Regions from separate parts of the Homo sapiens genome. Here regions 1, 2, 3, 5, 6 and 7 are each linked to region 4. The links are contacts of gene promoters, found by promoter capture Hi-C in blood cells and fetal thymus (Javierre and others, 2016). All regions are on one chromosome and are shown on one strand. The core of a region is centred on a gene start or on the middle of the fragment in contact, and the rest is flanking DNA. Distances in the headings are between cores, read along the strand shown.

Region 1 (2,700 bases), core at 161-2,660, 1.3 Mb before region 4:
AACCTTTGACTCTCTGTTGCGTCAGCTTAGGTTTTTCTTCCAGGAAGTCTTTTGTGACTACTCCCACTCCTGTCTCCCCAGTAGAGGGCAGTTATTCTTCCTCTGTCCTCTCTTGGCAGATCTTCCCCTTATTACAGCACTGTTCATGGAAACGGTAACATCTTTGAATCCATGTGTGTGACACAGTGCCTAAGATAGTCAGCAGGTATTCAATAAATATTTAAATGAAAGTATGCATGAATAAATGAATTACTGAATTGTAGGGAAGGGTGTGAAGTGAATGACTTAGATGAATCCTTCTGGCCCTGATGCATTGCAGTCTGATGCTGTTCTTTTTAATAGGTGGAATAATCCATCTCCACAGCATATTCTGTGAAATCTTGTTGAACCAAGAAGCAGAAAAAACTTGCTTCTATTTCGGCTGCTTGATTGTGTGGTCAGGGTCAAGTCATATAATTACTCAGGACCTTGGTCTCCTCCAGTGTAACATAGGTTGATGTTAACCACACTGTCTATTTTATAGGATTATTTTAAGGATTAGATGATATGATATACATGAAAACATTTTGGAAATTAAATTTACTGAAGAACTTGTTGCTTCTTCAGGGGTATCTATGTTGATATAATCCCTTCAGTGAATTCTTTGTAGTTTGAACTTTCTATTTTGTAATTCCAGGTTTGACCTTATGTTTTATGTGTTGGGAGTCACATATTTTAGATAGGGACTTCTTAGTATACTCTCAATAATAATCTTGGCTTCTTTTACCCATGAATTTGCCCATATGTAGAAGACTTTCCAAGAACACTGCTAATATTTCTGGATTATGCATAAAATACTTGTGTGTTTTGAATCTGTTTTCTATTCTGATCACTTAACTTTCCCATTTGTTTATGGATACTTTGGAAGTGGGATGGTGGATCTGTAGAAAGAAATAAAACTGAGTGTAGTTTCAGACCTAACTTGGTGACTATGTCCAATGCTAACCAAGGGAAACTTGTTTTGTATCTAGAAATCTACCAAAGGAGGGATATTATTTGCCCTCATTGAGAAGGATGGTAAGGGACACTAAGATTGAATTTCAGAGACCTTTGAAAATTTTTGTTTGACTGTTATTATATGGATTTAAAATAATGACTGGATTTCAAATTTAGCATTTGTACCAGAATCCTATGGGTCAGTTTATTATGTGAAGTTTCCATTAAGAGGCTCTCTAAATTCCCTATTCTCATACTTTTCTCAAAGCTTTCTTCCATGGACCCTTTTTAAAAGAGGGAGTATATGTGAGAAGACATTTCCTTCTGATTATAGAAGTTTATATTCATTGTAGAAAAACTTGGAAAATAAAATGAAAGCTATAAGGAAAATAAAAATGACCCAAGTTCTATAGTCTAGTTAATGTATCTTCCTATTGATATCCATATATCCATCAATATGTATAGTATATCACTATCTATTTTTGAGCATAATTGGGTAGGACATGTATTTAATACCTGCTGAATTCACTGGTCACTTTCTGAAACATGGTAGATGAATCTACTTTCTTTTAACTTGTAATTGGCTTCCTTTTAAAGCTTAAATAATTTTCCTTTTGAACTTCTTTTCTGCAAATATCAGAAACTTTTTTTTTTAATGTTATTTTATTCTTTGAGACAGTGTCTTATTCTGTCACCCAGGCTGCAGTGCAGTGGCTCAGTTGATCCTCCCACCTCAGCCTTCTGAGTAGCTGGGACTACAGGCATGTGCCACTATGCTCGGCTAATTTTTGTATTTTTTTTTTGTAGAGACAGGGTTTCACTTTGTTGCCCAGGCTGGCCTCAAACCCCTAAGCTCAAGCAATTCTCTTGCTTGGGCCTCCCAAAGTGTTGGGATTACAGGCATGAACCACCATGCCCAGCCAGGAACTTGCTTTAAAGTCTAAGATATAATTAAGATACTTGCTTACCTGTTAAATTATCTTGTTGGATCCTTACATGATTAGCACATGGATGAATTTAACTCACTTAAAGGATGTATGGTGGCGTCATGGCTTCATGTGAGATGTAGAGACCTGGATGGTCATTGATAAATCACTGTGGACCACAGATCTCCACCTATGCACCTATGTAGGAGGACTTTGACTCAGATGCTCTCCAAGCTTACTATTGTTTATCTGATTTTATGCTGTTCTGCTGCTTGCCCCTCGAGATCAGGTTTCATGGGTAGACAAATGTTAAGAGCCATGTGAATCTCGATGGAGCCTGTTTTTGCTTTGTTAGTTGTGTGTGTGTGTGTGTGTGTGTGTGTGTGTGTGTGTGTGTGTGTGTGTTGAGACAGAGTCCCACTCTGTTGCCAGGCTGGAGTGCCGTGGTGCAATCTCAGCTCACTGCAACCTCCGCCTCCCAGGTTCAAGCGATTCTTTTGCCTCAGCCTCCCAAGTAGCTGATACTACAGGTGTGGACCACCATGCCCAGCTAATTTTTTAAATTTTTAGTAGAGACTGGGTTTCACCATGTTGGCCAGGATGGTCTCGATCTCTTGACCTCGTGATCTGCCCACCTTGGCCTCCCAAAGTGCTGGGATTACAGGTGTGAGCCACTGCGCCAGGCCTGTTAGTTTTGTTTTAAAAACGTTTTAAGTCAGTGTTTTTCTTTTTTTTCTTTTCTTTTTTTTTTTTTTTTTTTTTTGGAGACAGAGTCTCGCTCAGTCGGCCAGGCTGGAGT
Region 2 (2,700 bases), core at 82-2,581, 1.0 Mb before region 4:
GGCATATCTAAGCTTTCCATCCAGCTGAAATTCGGACTCCAAAAACTCATGCCCAAACTTGCCCTTGTGCCCTACGTAGTAGCGCAGGTAGAAATCGCTAGCCATAACCATTTTTGTCCCTGGGAAGCCCGCTGAAAACCCAGACAACTGAGAGACCCTTTCTTAAAAAACAAACAAAAACAGGAGGCCACGGCCTGAGATCTCCAGTGAGTGACAGAGCTAGGACTTGAAACTATGTTTCCCTCATCCCCAGGAGCGATATTTTATCCACTTCACCAGTGGTTCTCAAACTTTGCGATGCCCAAGAATTGTTTAGGGAGATTGGTAAAGAGGCAGCATGTAGGACTGTGTCCCCAGAGATTCTGATTATTTCTAAGAGAAGTAAAGACAACTGGGAATTTGTCCCTAGGACATTCTGGGTGGGGTCTGGTAATGGAAACAAGTTCATGGACCACCTTTGAGAAGTGCTAGATTAAAACCTCATCATTACCAAGAGGGAGATTTTGTATGGATAGAAGAGAGAACTTTCTAATAGTCATATCTATATTCTGATCCAACTATTGCTGCGTGCCAGCATTTGGATTGGTGCTTTCATATACACAATTTCATCTCCTCTTGGTGGCTCTTTGAGTAGGTGCCTGCAGTTTGCAGATGAGGATACCAGGCTCTGATACCTTCAAGAGAGTATTAATCTCTCCCTCCTTTCTTCTAACTTGGGGCCCTGCACCTGCTTCATTTGGCATTCCATTATGTGCTTATGGTGAGTCTCCCTATGGAAATTGTGCACCTTGATGTTGTTGAAGGCCTTTGAGTGTTGTCTGGCGAAGGTCACAGATTGTATCTGTTGAGCTGAAATGCCCCATCTGCTGTGAACAGGCTTGAGCGATGAGGAACTGAGGGACCTATGGAGCAGCTGCCCCATGTGTCACTAAGGTGACATCAATCCTGGTATCTGGAGCCGCTAATCCCTGGGGGAAGGTCCTGTGGAGGAGAGAAAGTGCTATAACTGGACATTTGGGAGCCGAGTCCTGGTCACCTTGGGGCTGCTTCTCAGGGGAACCTGCCAAGTGCTGTCAAATCAGAACATGTCCTCCGCAGGGAAAAGATCCCATGAAGGCAAGCCCAGGGTTGTCAGAGGGTCCCAGGAACCAGAGTAGCATGAAAGCTCTGAGGAAGGCTGGGAGCAGGGTGAGGCTAGCTATCTCACAGTTTGGGCCCTGTCACTCCCAGTTCCTCCCCAGAATCGGTAGGGCGTCTCTCACTTCCACCCCTGAAGGTGCTCCTCTCCTTACATTCTGCCCCTCACACTTTCCCTTTTTTTTTTCTTTCTGAGACAGAGTCTTGCTCTGTTACCCAGGCTGGAGTGGAGTGGTGCGATCTTGGCTCACTGCAACCTCTGCCTCCTGGGTTCAAGCGATTCTCCTGCCTCAGCCTCCTGAGTAGCTGGGACTACAGGCATGTGCCACCACGCCTGGCTAATTGTGTTTTGTATTTTTAGTAGAGACGGGATTTCACCATGTTGGCCAGGCCGGTTTTGAACTCTTGACCTTGTGACCCGCCCCCCGGTTCAGCCTCCCAAAGTGCTGGGATTACAGGTGTGAGCCACTGTGCCTGGCCACACTTTCCTCTTTATACCATGTTGTATTAGCTGATTTTTTTTTTTTTGCATGAATCAAGTGTCACTTTTATAATCATATATAAAAAAGTTTCATTTGGAGAAAACTACAAATGGAATGATCTCCAGGAAAGCAGGGTGTAGGGGAGAAAAACTAAGATCTTTCCTTCACCCACCAAGAGGTTCATGGCTGACACCCCTGTAACAAAAGACAGATTAACAAGAGGAAAGTTTAACAAATTTATTTAACCAAAGTTTTATGTCACATGGGAGCCTTCAGAAATAAAGACCCAAAGACCCAGGGAAAACGGTATTTTTATGCTTAGGTTTGATGAACAATGGACAGTTTTGGCCAGGTGCGGTGGCTCACGCCTGTAATCCCAGCACTTTGGGAGGCCGAGGTGGGAGGATCACCTGAGGTCAGGAGTTCGAGACCAGCCTGGCCAACATGGAGAAACCCCATCTCTACTAAAAATACAAAATTAGCCAGGCGTGGTGGCACATGCCTGTAATCCCAGCTACTCAGGAGGCTGAGGCAGGAGAATCGCTTGAACCTGGGTGGCGGAGGTTGCGATGATCAGAGATCACGTCATTGCACTCCAGCCTGGGCAACAAGAGCAAAACTCTGTCTCAAAAAAGACAAAAACAAACAAACAAACAAAAAAACAAAACAAAGAAAAAACCTCAGATGCCAAGGCGCCATGCTTTGGAGTATTGCAGGGGAAAAATAATAGCCCCCATGGGTTTGTAGTTAGAAAAGCGCCCCTGTTATGAAAGACAGACTAAGAAGAGAAAAACAAACAGAAGTTTATTAACATGTATATTTTATGTATACATGGAAGACACTCAGAGAATGAATAGTTCTCAAAGAGGTAGCTTTGAATTCTAGCTTGTGTAGCATCTTCAACACAGAGCAAAGAACAGTCCATTTTTAGAGCAGTGACAAGACAAAGGAAAAGGGCGTTGAGTCTCTGGCGGCAGCGGCTTGTGGGGAAGGCAAATAAATGGCAGACAAAGACTAGTTAGTAAAGCTTATTAATGTAGATTCCTCTGGTACCATCTCCAGGCTGATAGGGTCTAAATCT
Region 3 (2,700 bases), core at 89-2,588, 1.1 Mb before region 4:
GAATGAGTTCCGGGCCTCCTTCAACCACTTTGACCGGGTGAGAGCCCCATCCTGTGCTTTCTTAGTGCAGCCCCCAACCCCTGCCCCAGGGCCCTGGAGGGCACTTCCCCGGGACGTGGGCTGCCATGCAAGTGAGGAGGGAGAGAAAGGGGAAACTGCCGTCAGCCTGCCCTGACTCAATGCACCCTGCAAAACCAGCCTTGGAAAACCTGTGTTGGTGCCCCATAAGCTTCCCTGCTTTCCGGGAGAGAGTGTTCAGACTGTGGGTAGAAAGAGGACCTTTGACCCCTGATCCTTGCTCTCCTACCATGAGGAGTCACCCTCAGTGAAGGCTTGCTGCTCCCTGGCTGTGGAGACAGAGGAGCAGAAGAGACTCCTCCTGCCCTCGCTGGCCCCTACCCCTACCCCGACCTCCAGTGGCCTCTGGGACTCTGCTGGGGATGTCAGAGGCCTTGGTCCTGGGTTCCCATCCCAGCTCTGGGTCAGGCTGGGTTTTAGTGGGCTGCCCCTTCCCAGTGCCCTGGGGCTTGCGGGCGGTCCCAAGGCGTGGGAGCATGGGCTTGGGTGCTGCCCACCACCCCACCTGCTTCATGGCTCTCTAGGCACCTGGGGGGAAGCCCCTGGGGAAGCGGGGGGGCTGGGTCACTTCTGAGGGAGCTTCTCACCCTTGTGGCTCATCACACCCCACTGTGGTCCTGCTCCCTGGAGCAGGGCTGCGTGTGCTGGGGGGAGGGCACCCCCTGGAGCCTCGTTGGTGTGTCTAACCGTGTGCACTTTTATTTCCCCTCCTCCCCCGCCCCCCCACCCTCCCTCCGCATGCCTGTCCCTGTGTCTCCCCACACACGCCACCCTCCCCCGGGGCATGCCCCCCTCACGGCTCCACCTCCCTGACACCGCATGGCTCGCTGCCTGGCGCACCGCGGCCCCAGGATCACTCCGGCACACTGGGTCCCGAGGAGTTCAAAGCCTGCCTCATCAGCTTGGGTTATGATATTGGCAACGACCCCCAGGTACTCGCCTCCTGCATGGAGCACGCTCAGGGGTGGCGTCTGGGGCAAGAAATAATGCGTTTTTCCTTTTTCTCTTCTCTCTGTCTGGATCTCCTGTCCCCCTCCTGTGGGCCATGGGGCTCGTCCTCTCCTGCTGTCTCTGTCTGCCCCATCACTGGTCCACCCTCTGCCCTCTGCTGTCTTTCATGGCAACCTACTGGGTGCCCGCTGTCTTCCGTCCTCGCTGCTCTTCATCCCATGGGTGGATTTTTGCATCTCCCTGCTCTGTCTTCCTCCTGTCTTTGGACATTTCCACCGATGTGTGTTCGCATCTTCTCCTATGTTCCTTTACCTATCCTGACCCCCAAAACCATAAATCTCATCCCCGTTCTGGCCATCTGTTCCTGTCTTCCTGGCCCCGGGCCGGCCCTTCCTCTTCCTGCCTTCCCGACCCTCCTTGTGTCTTGGTACCACTGCCCCCCACAGAAGAAGACAGGCATGATGGACACGGATGATTTCCGCGCCTGCCTGATCTCCATGGGTTACAACATGGTAACGTAAACCCCACCCTCTGTCTGCCCTGGTGAGAAGGCAGCCAGCTGGCGGGAGCAGCCAAGTCCCAGGAGTGGCAGGCTGGAGGCCCTCAGGCTAGGGGCTGCCCTCCCTGGAGGAGCCCCAGGGCCCATGTCCTTGGGGAAGATGGCTCCCTGAAAGCCGGCCCGGCCACGGGCGTGTGTGTATCCGGGAGGCCTGACCTCCTCGCCTCAATCTCTGTGCCACTTCATCTTCTGGTACTTCTCACTCCCACTGTGGACAGCTGGGCTGACCCTGAGGCTGGCAGGAAGGACTGGTGGTGTGGGACATCCCAGGTTTCGGGCTGGCATGCGTCACCTCACATGGAGCATGGAAACCGAGACTTCCACCTCTGTCCTGGCGGTGACTCTGGTTGGGCCTGCCGCCCCTCTGGATTGTCCCAGGCCGTCCCCCACCCCCCAACCTTCCTAGTCTGTCCCCCCTTGCACAGACATTCTGAGCAGAGCAGTCAGGTGACTCCTGAGCCATGGTGCCAAGTGCAGAGCCCACAGGCTGTCCAGCGCAGGGCATGGGCATGGGGCTAGGAGCAGTGAACCTGGGAGTAAATCCCAGCCCTGCCGTCATTAGTGTGTTACCTCAGGTGAAGTGGGGGAACCCTACAGGACTGTTACAAGGATTAAATGAAGGAATTTAAGTGTGTGCATGTATCTGGCATGTAGAAAATACAGTGTGGTGGGGAGAGAACAGATTCTAGAACCAGACTGCCTGAGTTCAAATCCCAGTTCTGCTGCTTCCTGGCTGTGTGACCCTGGGCAAATCACTTAGCCTGTCTGGGCTTCAGATTTCTCATCTGTACAATGAAGATAATAAAATACCTATCTTTATGGTTGTAGTAAGGATTAAATGAATTGAAATAAAGCTTTTAGATTAATACTTGATATGCTACATAGGTGTCAGCCATTGTTAATCATTGTTGTCATTATAGTTATTATCAACATGATTATTTGCTCTAAGAGGAACTCAGGCATCTGCAGGGTGTGGGGAACCCTGAGCTGGGTCTCCCCTGTTGGGTGTTGTGTCCCCATCATACCCTTAGGACAACCCAGGTTAGGTCAGGGGGATGTGCCCTTCTCTTCCAGCCATAGGCTGCTCTGAGCCCCCAGGGTCTTCAGTCCAT
Region 4 (2,700 bases), core at 111-2,610:
TGGGAAATGCTGAATGAAATTACTAAACCTGAAACACACATAGTGAGGAAAGCTGAGAGTCTGTGATTAAAGCACACCAGGGAAACCAAACAAAAGGCTTGGTGTAAGGCAGCTGTGGTGAGCAAACCTAGTAAGCCGTTACTTCAAGAGTTGGTTTCAGGCTGGGAACGGTGGCTCACGCCCGTAATCCCAGAACTTTGGGAGGCCGAGGTGGGCGGATTGCCTGAGGTCAGGAGTTCGAGACCAGCCTGGCCAACATGGTGAACCCCTGTCTCTATTAAAAATACAAAAATTAGCCGGGTGTGGTGGCGCGCGCCTGTAAATCCCAGCTACTCAGTGAGGCTGAGGCAGAAGAATCGCTTATCCCAGCTACACAGTGAGGCTGAGGCAGGAGAATCGCTTAAACCCGGGAGACGGAGGTTGCAGCGAGCCGAGATCGCGCCATTGCACTCCAGCCTGGGAGACAGAGCGAGACTCTGTCTCAAAACAAAAGACTTGGTTTCAGATTATTGTGTTTGCGAAAAAGCCTTTGCTCATTCTTTGCTCTCTGATCTCTTATGCATACTTCTGTCTTATAATTTAGCCCACCGTCTCCTAATTTTTGGCCTGCATCTCCCTTGAGAAGAAGGACCTCCATTTACTCAACTTAGAGAATAGGGCCTAAGCCCGGTGTAGTGGCGCGCGCCTCTAGTCCCAGCTACTACAGGAAGGCTGAGGCTTAAGGATTACTTGATCCAGGAAGTTCGAGGCTGCCATGAGCCGAGATCACACCACCGCACTCCAGCGACAGAGAGACTCTGTCTCTAAAAAAATAAAATAAAGCCTAGCACACCGTTCAATTAACAGTTGTAGGGTAAATGTGCAAATAAATGAATGGAGTGAAGCAGAAGAATATGGAAATTCAGACCGCAGAGTTCCGGAACAAAAGAGCCCAGTAGATAGAATAATAATGGAGGAGAACCCAGTTCTCCTAGCTCCGGGTATCCCCCGCGCCTGGCAAAACACCATCACTGGTTGGCGTTCAATAAATGTTGACTTCACATGTTAAGGAGATAAGAGAGTGGAAGAAAAAAAAAAATCCAGGGTCACAGTTCTTCCTGCCACCTGCTCGGCCGAATGCAGAACTGAAAGTATTGAGCGCCGGAGCTGTCACAATTGAGGGAGATGGTCCGCAGCCAGGTAGCTGATTTCCTCTTTCCGAGCTTTCTAGCTTTCCCTACTCCCGGAGAGGTGGCGTCACGTGACTCAAACAAATATGGCACTTAATTTTCATCTTCCCTGCCTTGAGCCAATAGGAGTGGGGCTTTCAGTCTTTGTCACCACCCCCACCACCGCTGTTCGGAGTGGGTTCTGTCACCTGACTCGGCTCAAACATGGCTGCGCTGAGAGCTCTATTGCTTTGGGCGCCGGGAGCAGGTGAGTGTAAGACACCCCTGAGAGGGAGGGGCCCCTCTCCACGACCCCCGCAGAGAGCGTCCCTGCGGCCCACCCCCACACTGCTTTCCACTTATGACACAGATTCGTCTCCTGGTCGTCAATCCTCTGCCTTAACAGAGGGCTCAAACTAGGGAGGTTCCTGCTGAATTTCTCATTCTTGAGGAGGCGACCACCTGGGGATTTGGAGTCAAGACTGGGCATAACGTTCAGTAGGGAATACGGACGTAGAGTTATGGGTCTGCGCCCGGAGCAAATATGACTATTAATATTATTAAATATAGGAATCCGCGTGAAGAGATGGGATCCACCCCTTGAAGAAAGTGTTTTCAAAAAGTAACGTGGGAAATTAAACTGAAAACGATACTTAGGCAAGCAAGTCCCGCCTTTCCCAGGCGGACCAGTAGTTGCTGCTTTGTCTTAATACAGTGCCTTCTGTTTCTTCTCACTGGCGTTGTGTTGTTTCTAGGAGGTACTCCGCGAATGAGAACATTGAGAATGTGTTCGGCATAACTCATTTCTTTGTATCTCCCTGCACTCTGTGCTGGGAAAATGAATCATCCATTTGGAAAAGAGGAAGCTGCTTCGCAGAAGCAGCTTTTTGGATTTTTCTGCGAATGCCTGCGGAGGGGAGAATGGGAGCTGGCACAGGCATGTGTACCTCAGCTACAGGAGGGACAAGGGGATATCCCAAAGAGGGTAGAAGACATACTTCAGGCATTGGTGGTGTGTCCAAATCTGCTGAGGTAAGGGATCTCTTTTCCTACCAGACGGTCCCAGGGTGAGAGACATGTGGTTCAATATTTGGGCATTGGTCAATGTGCCCCCACTCAACTACCCTCTGAAGAATAAGCAGAGGCACAGTGTATTTCACGTGCTCTGAAATTTTACCTCTATAGTATACATCCATTACTTAGTCAATATTGGCTTTTGATTATCATCTGCAACTGAATGTAAGCCTGGCTGCCAAAGTGTGCCTGAAACTGCCATTTCTTGTTTATCCTCGTTAATATAGATGGTGGAACTGCATTGAAAACTATTTTCTTTGCCTCCAAAAAAGCAAACCCTGCTCTCTTCTTGCTTATGAGATTGAAAATATTGTTGTCGCTTTACTTAAAACTTTTTATTTCGAAATAATTGCAGTCTCACAAGAAGCTGCAAAAATAATGGAGTCCAGCGTATCCTTTTCCCAGTCTGCCCCAATTGCGACGTCTCATACAGCTGTAGTACAATATCAAAACCATGAAATTGACATTGGCACATTAC
Region 5 (2,700 bases), core at 166-2,665, 1.3 Mb before region 4:
AATTATTTCTATAAATCTTTTTTCCAGTTAACACTTCTAATTTGTATTAGCATTGGCTTTGTTCATATTTTTTCCCTGAAAACTTAAAAATACTAAATTGTAATGTGGACAGGGACCACCTTGCACGAATGATCAGATGTCTGCTTTTTTCTTTTGCAGGCAATGATGAGCAAGTTATCCTCCATGATGTTGAAAGGTAAATAGATTGGTGGTGTGTGAAGGTGATTGACTTTGTTTTTCATATATGAAGAGGCAAATATCTCTTTAGACTAAAATAGTTTTTGTTTTTTGAAAAAAACAACATGAAACCAGCTGTTCTTTTCTAAAAAAATTCCTACAATAGTTTGAAATAAATAAAGTTTTGATTTAAAAAGGAAAAAGGGATTTGAAAGTTTTGAAAGTTGGTATGAGAGTGTACTTTTTAGGTGAAAATTTAAAACAAGAGTTTAGAAGAGAAGGAACCATAATATTTAAGAACAGTAATAGCTAATATTGATTGAGTTCTTACTATGTGCCAGACACCATTGTAAATGCTTTGTACATATTCATTCATTTAATCCTCACACTCATTTTCTGAGGAGATACTATTGTCATCTCCGTTCTAGATCAGGAAACGGAGTCACAGACATGTTAGATAACAGAAGGTCAGGTGGTACTAAAACCTGAACTTAGGCTATCTGGCCTCAGAGCCATGCTCTTCATCACCATGCCAGATTGCTAGGAGACCCCTCTCCCATCCTGTAGGCATCAGACTTGGCTGCTTTAAAGCTTTCCCTTGCTTTTTGAAAATCAAGTATGACCCCCAAATCTGTACACAAGCAGATGCATTCTGTAATAAATGAAAATACAAAACTCAGCTATTGAGTCACTTTTAAATATGCTTATTTAGCACAAAAATTATAAAATCTCTAAAAAGACTCCTTAATAGTACCTTTTTTTTAACCTGAAAGTTGACTACCTACCTTTCAGGAAATATAATATTTTTTGGGTTTAGCTAGGTTGACTTTCTTCTAGAAATGGAAAAGATGGCACCCTCGGTACCAAAGTGCTGGGACTCTGCACTATGCTTGTGTGTATGTGTGTGCCTCTGTCTTGCTCTCTTATCTCCCAGCAGTGAGACATTGGACGTGTTTGCTCATGAAGATGCAGTATATGGCTTGTCTGTGAGCCCAGTGAATGACAACATTTTTGCCAGTTCCTCAGATGATGGCCGGGTTCTCATTTGGGACATTCGGGAATCCCCCCATGGAGGTAGGCTCACTGTGCAAATGACTGTTGGACTGTGTTGAACAGTTTGATGTCAGATTCATTGAAGATCCAATTTATTACCTCAGTATCTATGTGCAAGTGATGTCAAGGGAAAGGAAATGTGAAACACTCACATGGGGGCATAAGAGGTCTTTGGAGGCCTTATCCTCCACCTAAATACTCAGGAGTGAGGCACCTTTGCCAGTCCTTCTCCACCCTCCTGTGACTCTCCACAAACCCTTGTACTTTGGTGTTTAGTGCCCCAAGGAGCAGAAGTTGTGGTGCTGACATGTAACTATTCTTGATTATTTACAGAGAATGGGGGCGTTATGCACTTTCCTGCATCCTAGTTTCAGGCTTGTTATTTTGTTGAAAGAACCACCGAATCTCAAATTACCTGTGTATAGGATCTTAAAATGATGGCAAATAAACTCTGTTTAAAGGGGATTGTCGTGTGAGTGCCTCCTCTGAATGTGCCCTTTGACTCTCTGATGTGTGAAATGAAGAAGTTGCTTTGTTGACTTTCTCTGAAGTTCTTCAGGAAATGCATCTTCTCAGCTCATTTCCTACAGAGAGATTTCTGTAATTCTACCTGTCTTCAAAAGGCCCCTTCCTCTAGTACCAGCCTTAGTGCCACTGCCATACCCACCGTGGCCTTTAGTGCAGATTGTAATGATCACAGCTGTGTACCTAAATTTACTATCCTGCCTGCTCTGTCTGGCAGGATCTGGGTCTTTTAACTTTTCTATGTTCTAAACATTTTACATTCTGGGCTGTGCTCATTATTTAGGTTCAGGCTATAAGAGAAGCTTGTTTTTAGGGTTAGGCAGGTAAGGTAGCACGAAGTAGCAGCTGTGGTCGAGTCACTGTGGGCTTGGTAAGTGAAATTCTCCTTCGTCTGAACTGCCTGATGGCAGAGATGACTGAGTGCTTTACCTGCTCAGAGACCTGTGAAATACTGCATATGGAGGTCATAGACTGAGAAGTGCTTTCTTTGTATTACTCTAACAGGTCCCATAGGAGTATATCCTGCTAGGTAACTAAGTGATTTCTTCCTCACTTGGAACCTGCTAATTTTTGTAAAATGTTGCAGGGTTTCTAGGTGAAGTTGATTACAGACTGGCTAGATGTTAGGGAGCATTGTGAACCAGAAGAGAAAAACCACACCATTGTGTTTCACCACGTCTTAATTTTGTCATTGTTTTTTTTAATCTTCATCAAATCTGTGCATGGTTTAAAAACTTTTCTAAAACTAATACAATTGGATTAAAAGCATAATAACCCTACCATACTTGGTTGTGAATTTTTTCAGCTCATGTGGAATTCAGTTTTACTTACTGTAAAATGGCTTATTTTCCCATTTTTAGTGGCCGTTTCTGTTTTGTGTCAAGATCTGATAGCTGCTATATATATTTCTGGGTGTTATAGCTTAAAATGTGGTTAAATGTGTTT
Region 6 (2,700 bases), core at 158-2,657, 1.2 Mb before region 4:
ACATCTCCTTTGCCCTGGAGCTGTAAAGGTAGACCTGTGGGAGCTCTGCCATCCCTGTTTTGTGGCTGAGACTGCTGAGTTCCAAAGCACTTGCCCAGGTCACACAGCAACTTGTAGGTGGCAGGTGGGACTGAACCCGGCTTCCTGCCTCTGCGGTGGCGTTCGTATGTTACACCTGCCACCCTGCACCCCGCCAGTGTTCAAAGACTTGCTGATGTTTGATGAGGGAGGGCAGGAGACGTCAGTCTCAGTATCTTACTCTCTTTCCACCCACACGTGTGTGTGGCATCTGGTGTCCGTACCTATGGGTCCCTGGTCCCTTGCCTGCTGCCCTCTTTTCCTGGGCTTGAGATTCAGGTTCCTAGGGACCTATGCCACGTTGCCATTTTTTTCACCTCCCAGGGTAGTAGTTGTGCTTTTATTACTTCTTGATAAAGCAAATGTGTCATGACGAAAAGGTGCGTGAATTTGGGAATGCTTCTAAATGAGTTTATATTTTATGGCTCAGCAGCCTCTTGTGCCATTTGGAAGCTGGCTGTGCTCTGCAAGACAAGAGACTGCTCTGGATATGAGGCTTGGGCTGCATGTAGAGTTTTGGAAGAGGCCAGATGTGGGGAGCCACGATGAGCCCCACTCCGCCAGGACCATTCCTAGGCTTCAAGGACAACAAGTGGGGTCCCAGTTGAGTGGCCTTTGTCCCTGTCTGATTTCCCTCCTCTTGCCTTCTTATCTTCTGGCTCTCAGCCACTCGGCCATTGCCTTGCCCAGTTAGTACCTGGGCTAGGAGAGTCAGAAAGGACAGATATGTGGCAGCCTGCCTGCCTTCATTACACTTTCTTGGGGCACTGTTGTGAAACTCCTCTCTAAAGACATTTAGAGGATTCTCAGGGGATGTCACTGATCTGTAACTGATCTGAGGCTCCTTGGATGATCAAAGGTGGATTTGTGGAGTCTCCTGGGGTCCCCCTAGTAATGGACTTTCAGGAGCTCCCTGATGAGCTCATCCCAGCACCCCAAAGAGCAGGTAAGCACGAATCAAGCTTGCACATACTAGGTATTCACCGAGTATCCAGTGTTGATGAACAGTGGTGGTGAGGGCCTTTGGACAGGAGTGTGGCAGCTGTAGTCCTGCAGGAGACAACTGACAGATGCTGAGGGCCTGGGTGGTGGTAGTCTGAGTCACCAAGGACCACCCCAGAGATGAGGTTGATTGCTGGGACCAGGGCAGAGGCCCAGTTGGCTCCTCAGGACTAAGAGGTGTGTCCTGGAATCAGAAGGAGGACAGGGGCCAGGGAAGCTGGCCTTGTCATTGGGATGGGGTCATAGCCTAGGATGACCTCAGCCCCTGCCATGCTGCTCAGCGCCCCTCTCTGAGCTGGTGCGTCCAATGGTAGGCTGGTTGGAACTGGCACAGACCTCCCAGCTCCCTACCAGCCAGCCTAGCTGCGTTTTTTCTTTGGCTAACAGCCCATCAGATTCCAAGGTGCTGGCCATACTGACATGTCCCTCTTCATCCTGCCCCTTCCTCTCTGGAGGGTGGGGTTATTGCATTTGGCTGAGCCCTGCTTCAGAAAATCACAGGGAATTTCTGGTCCTTTTGTGTGGGTTTGTGGACCTTAAAGGAAGTAAAACCTGGGTCTTGGTTTTCCTTCTCCTTCCAGTCCCTCTGCTGAGGGTTCTCTCTGGAGTGTTGGACGTCAGCAGCCCACTGTCTTTAGCCACAGTATCCCGAGGGGTGTGGATCTAGATAACTGTGGGGCCTCAGCAAAGCTTTCACCTGCCTCCTGCTCCCTTTCTGTTGGGACTTTGGGAGTGGCATTTGGGAGTGGGGATAGGTGTGAAAAGACTGTCTTCTTTGATTTATTAGGCCAGAGAGTTGTTTGGCAGAAACCTATCTTGTCCCCCAGGAACAGGAAGAATGGTTGTGTGTTAGGTACCGGGGCCTCAGGAGACCCGAGGTCTTGTCCTAGTGCTGCCTGTGGCCACTTTGTGATGCTGGATAAGTCACACCTGAAACCACCTATAAACCGAGAAATTGGATGGTAGGATGGTGGTGGGGCTCTGTTCTAAAGGCTGTACTTGGATTATCACATGCAGATGATCTCTGGGGTCTGCGGTGATGCCAACATTCTGTGTTTCTGCCCTCTTGGACACTCAGCAGAGTTAAGCACTTCTTTTTTTAAAAACAAAATTAGTTACTTTTTTATTTTTTGAGACAGGGTCTCGCTCTGTCACCCAGGCTGGAGTGCAGTGGCATGATCTCAGCTTACTGCAGCTTCTACCTCCTGGGCTCAATTGAGTCTCCCACCTCAGTTTCCCAAGTAGGTGGGCCCACAGGAGTGTGTCGTCATGCCCAGATAATTTTATTTTTTTTGTAGGGACAGGGTCTTGCTGTGTTACCCAGGCTGGTCTCAAACTCCTGGGCTTAAACGATCTCCTGCCTCGGCCTCCCAAAGTGCTGGGATTACAGGCATGAACCACCATACTCATCCGAGTCAGGCACTTCTAAAGGTGACCTTGCAGTTGACTCCTGGGCTTTGTAGCCTGGCCCTGAAGTTAACTATTCGGCGAACACAGCTTCTTTAGGAGCCCTCTGTGTCTTCAGCTTTGAGGAGTTTGTTCTCACCCTCTAGGGAGGATGCAAGTGGGGCCAGGTGAATGTGCTTCCTTTATAGACAGACCCAGAAGCCAGTGCTCTTG
Region 7 (2,700 bases), core at 98-2,597, 1.0 Mb before region 4:
ATATACACTGGAGAAAGAAGAGTCTTTTCAATAAATGGTGCTGGGGAAACTGGATAACCATATGCAAAATAATAAAACTAGACCCCTATTTCTTACCATATATAAAAATGGATTAATTACTTAAGTCTATGACCTGAAACTATGAAACTACTAGAAGAAAACATTGGGAAACACTCCAGGACAAAGATTTTTTGTGTAAGACTCAAAAGCACGGGCAATAAAAGCAAAAATAGACAAAGAGGATTACAGCTAGCTAAAAAGCTTCTGCACAGCAAAAGAAACAATCAACAAAGTAAAGAGGTAACCCCCAGAATGAGAGAAAATATTTGCAAACTACTCATCCAACAAGGGATTAATAACTGAATATATAAGGAGTTCAAACAACTTAATAGCAAAAAAAAAATCTGATTTAAAAATGGGCAAAACATCTGAACAGACATTTCTCAAAAGAAGACACACAAATGGTGTATGAAAAAATGCTCCACATCACTAATCATCAAAGAAATACAAATCAAGCCTGGGCGAGGTGGCTCACGCCTGTAATCCCAGCACTTTGGGAGGCCAAGGTGAGCGGATCAACGAGGTCAGGAGATCGAGACCATCCTGGCTAACACAGTGAAACCCCGTCTCTACTAAAAACACAAAAAATTAGTTGGGCGTGGTGGCGGGCGCCTGTAGTACCAGCTACTCGGGAGGCTGAGGCAGGAGAATGGCATGAACCCGGGAGGCGGAGGTTGCGGTGAGCCGAGATCGTGCCACTGCACTCCAGCCTGGGTGACAGAGCAAGACTCTGTCTCAAAAAAAAAAAAAAAAAGAAAAGAAAAAGAAAAAGAAAAAGAAAAAAGAAATACAAATCAAAACAACAGTGAGATCATCTCACTCCACTTAAAATGGCTTTTATCAAAAAGGGATGCTGCTGAGGATATGGAGAAAGGGGAACCCTCATAGACTGTTGGTGGGAATGTAAATTAGTACAACCACTATCAATAGCACTTTTTGAGCTATTTTTAGCACAAAAAACTAAAAAGAGAACCACCATTTGATCCAGCAATCCACTACTGGGTATATATCCAAAAGAAAAGAAATCAATATATCAAAGAGATATCTGCACTCCTGTATTTATCACAGCACTATTCACAATAGCCAAAAAATGGAATCAACCTAAGTGTCCATCAATGGATGAATAGATAGAGAAGATGTGGTATATATACCCAATGAAGTATTATTCAACCATAATAAAATAAAATTATGTCATTTGTAGCAACATGGATGCAAGTGGATGTCACCATGTTAAGTGAAATAAGCCAAGTGCAGAAAGACAAATATTGCATGTTCTCACTCATATGTGGGAGCTAAAAACTTGGATCTCTTGAAGACAGAGAGTAAATTTGTGGTTTTCAGAGGCTGGGAAGGAGAGGGGAGTGAGGGGATGAAGAGAGGTTGATTAATGGGTACAAATATACAGTCAGAAAAAGTAAGATCTATTGTTCTATAGATCTGTAGGGTGACAATAGTTTGCAATAACCTATTATGTATTTCAAAATAGCTAGAAGGGAATAACTTGAATGTTTCCAGTATAAAGAAAAGACAGATATTCAAGGGACAGATATCTCAATTATCCTGATTTGATATTTACACATGATATGAATGTATTAAATTATTACATGTACCCTGAAAATATGTACATCTATTATGTATCAATAAAAAATAAACATACCTTAAAATAAAATAAAATGTGTAAAGGAAAAAAATCATTTGACCATATATGTGAGGGTTTGTTTCTGGGCTCTGTCTTCTACTTCATTGGTTTATATGTCTGTCTTTATGCCAGTTCCACATTGTTTTGAATACTGTAGCTTTGTTTTGAAATCAGGAAAAGTGAGTCCTTTAGCTTCGTTCTTTTTCTTTTTCTTTTTTTTTGAGACAGAGTCTCTCTGTCGCCCAGGCTGGAGCACAGGGGCGCGATCTTGGCTCACTGCAAGCTCCGCCTCCCGGGTTCACGCCATTCTTCTGCCTCAGCCTCCCAAGTAGCTGGGACTACAGGCGCCCGCCACCAGGCCCGGCTAATTTTTTGTATTTTTAGTAGAGACGGGGTTTCACCGTGTTAGCCAGGATGGTCTCGATCTCCTGACCTCGTGATCCACCCACCTCGGCCTCCCAAAGTGCTGGGATTACAGGTGTGAGCCACCGTGCCCGGCCAGCTTTGTTCTTCTTTTTCAAGATCATTTTGGCTACTTAGGGAACCATGAAATTCAATATAAATTTTAGGATGAGTTTTTCTTTTCTGCAAAAAAAAAAGTCATTGGGATTTGATAGGGCTTGCATTGAATCTGTAGATTGACTTGCTGTAGTGAGAACTTCCAGTACTATGTGGAATAGAAGTGGTGAAAGCAGGCATCCTTTCCTTGTTCCTGATCATAGAGGGAAAGCTTTCAACTTTTCACCATTGAGTATATTTGCAGTGAGTTTTTTGTATACAGCTTTTTAATGTTGAAGTAATTTCCTTTTATTTTTTAAAAAAACTTTTATTTTTTAAAAATCAACAGATAATAATTGTGCATACTCATGGGTTACCTACTGATTTGATTATACATATAATATGTAGTGATCAGATCAAGGTAACTAGCATATCCCTCATCTCAAACACTGATCATTTCTTATATTGGGAACAGTCAGTATCCTCCTTCTAGCTATTTGAAA

The links. Contacts are between HindIII fragments. The CHiCAGO score rates a contact against its expected background, and 5 or more counts as called.
Region 1: a fragment that was not itself captured here is called in contact with the fragment with the promoter of ZFYVE26 in region 4 in 1 of 17 cell types (total B cells); the score reaches 5.7 in total B cells.
Region 2: a fragment that was not itself captured here is called in contact with the fragment with the promoter of ZFYVE26 in region 4 in 4 of 17 cell types (naive CD8 T cells, naive CD4 T cells, neutrophils and 1 more); the score reaches 6.8 in naive CD8 T cells.
Region 3: a contact is called between a fragment that was not itself captured here and the fragment with the promoter of ZFYVE26 in region 4, in 1 of 17 cell types (neutrophils). The highest score is 5.8, in neutrophils.
Region 5: a fragment that was not itself captured here is called in contact with the fragment with the promoter of ZFYVE26 in region 4 in 2 of 17 cell types (non-activated CD4 T cells and naive B cells); the score reaches 7.5 in non-activated CD4 T cells.
Region 6: a contact is called between a fragment that was not itself captured here and the fragment with the promoter of ZFYVE26 in region 4, in 1 of 17 cell types (neutrophils). The highest score is 5.7, in neutrophils.
Region 7: a contact is called between a fragment that was not itself captured here and the fragment with the promoter of ZFYVE26 in region 4, in 5 of 17 cell types (neutrophils, M2 macrophages, total B cells and 2 more). The highest score is 8.8, in neutrophils.

The regions. Positions count from the first base shown.
Region 1 is chr14:69,098,858-69,101,557 of GRCh38, reverse strand. The region is part of intron 5 of DCAF5 (DDB1 and CUL4 associated factor 5); the gene reads left to right. Among named protein-coding and RNA genes, the nearest start is that of DCAF5, 53 kb to the left of the region's middle. The HindIII fragment of the contact is 329 bases long and covers 1,246-1,574 here.
Region 2 is chr14:68,859,173-68,861,872 of GRCh38, reverse strand. It overlaps the pseudogene MAGOH3P. Among named protein-coding and RNA genes, the nearest start is that of ZFP36L1, 67 kb to the right of the region's middle. The HindIII fragment of the contact is 2,634 bases long and covers 15-2,648 here.
Region 3 is chr14:68,877,299-68,879,998 of GRCh38, reverse strand. It overlaps ACTN1 (actinin alpha 1), which reads left to right. Exons shown (of 22, transcript NM_001130004.2): 18 at 1-37; 19 at 930-1,010; 20 at 1,476-1,541. Among named protein-coding and RNA genes, the nearest start is that of ZFP36L1, 86 kb to the right of the region's middle. The HindIII fragment of the contact is 2,213 bases long and covers 232-2,444 here.
Region 4 is chr14:67,815,250-67,817,949 of GRCh38, reverse strand. ZFYVE26 (zinc finger FYVE-type containing 26) reads left to right here and starts at 1,360. Exons shown (of 42, transcript NM_015346.4): 1 at 1,360-1,416; 2 at 1,904-2,180. The coding sequence starts at 1,987. RefSeq lists enhancers at 829-928, 979-1,148. The HindIII fragment of the contact is 23,571 bases long and covers 1-2,700 here.
Region 5 is chr14:69,116,690-69,119,389 of GRCh38, reverse strand. DCAF5 (DDB1 and CUL4 associated factor 5) reads left to right here. Exons shown (of 9, transcript NM_003861.3): 3 at 160-196; 4 at 1,112-1,251. Among named protein-coding and RNA genes, the nearest start is that of DCAF5, 35 kb to the left of the region's middle. The HindIII fragment of the contact is 1,289 bases long and covers 771-2,059 here.
Region 6 is chr14:68,965,729-68,968,428 of GRCh38, reverse strand. The region is part of intron 1 of ACTN1 (actinin alpha 1); the gene reads left to right. It overlaps LOC124903336 (a long non-coding RNA gene), which reads left to right and starts at 250. Exons shown (of 2, transcript XR_007064228.1): 1 at 250-298; 2 at 366-2,700. RefSeq lists an enhancer at 1-658. The HindIII fragment of the contact is 730 bases long and covers 1,043-1,772 here.
Region 7 is chr14:68,829,105-68,831,804 of GRCh38, reverse strand. No RefSeq gene overlaps it. Among named protein-coding and RNA genes, the nearest start is that of ZFP36L1, 37 kb to the right of the region's middle. The HindIII fragment of the contact is 2,168 bases long and covers 264-2,431 here.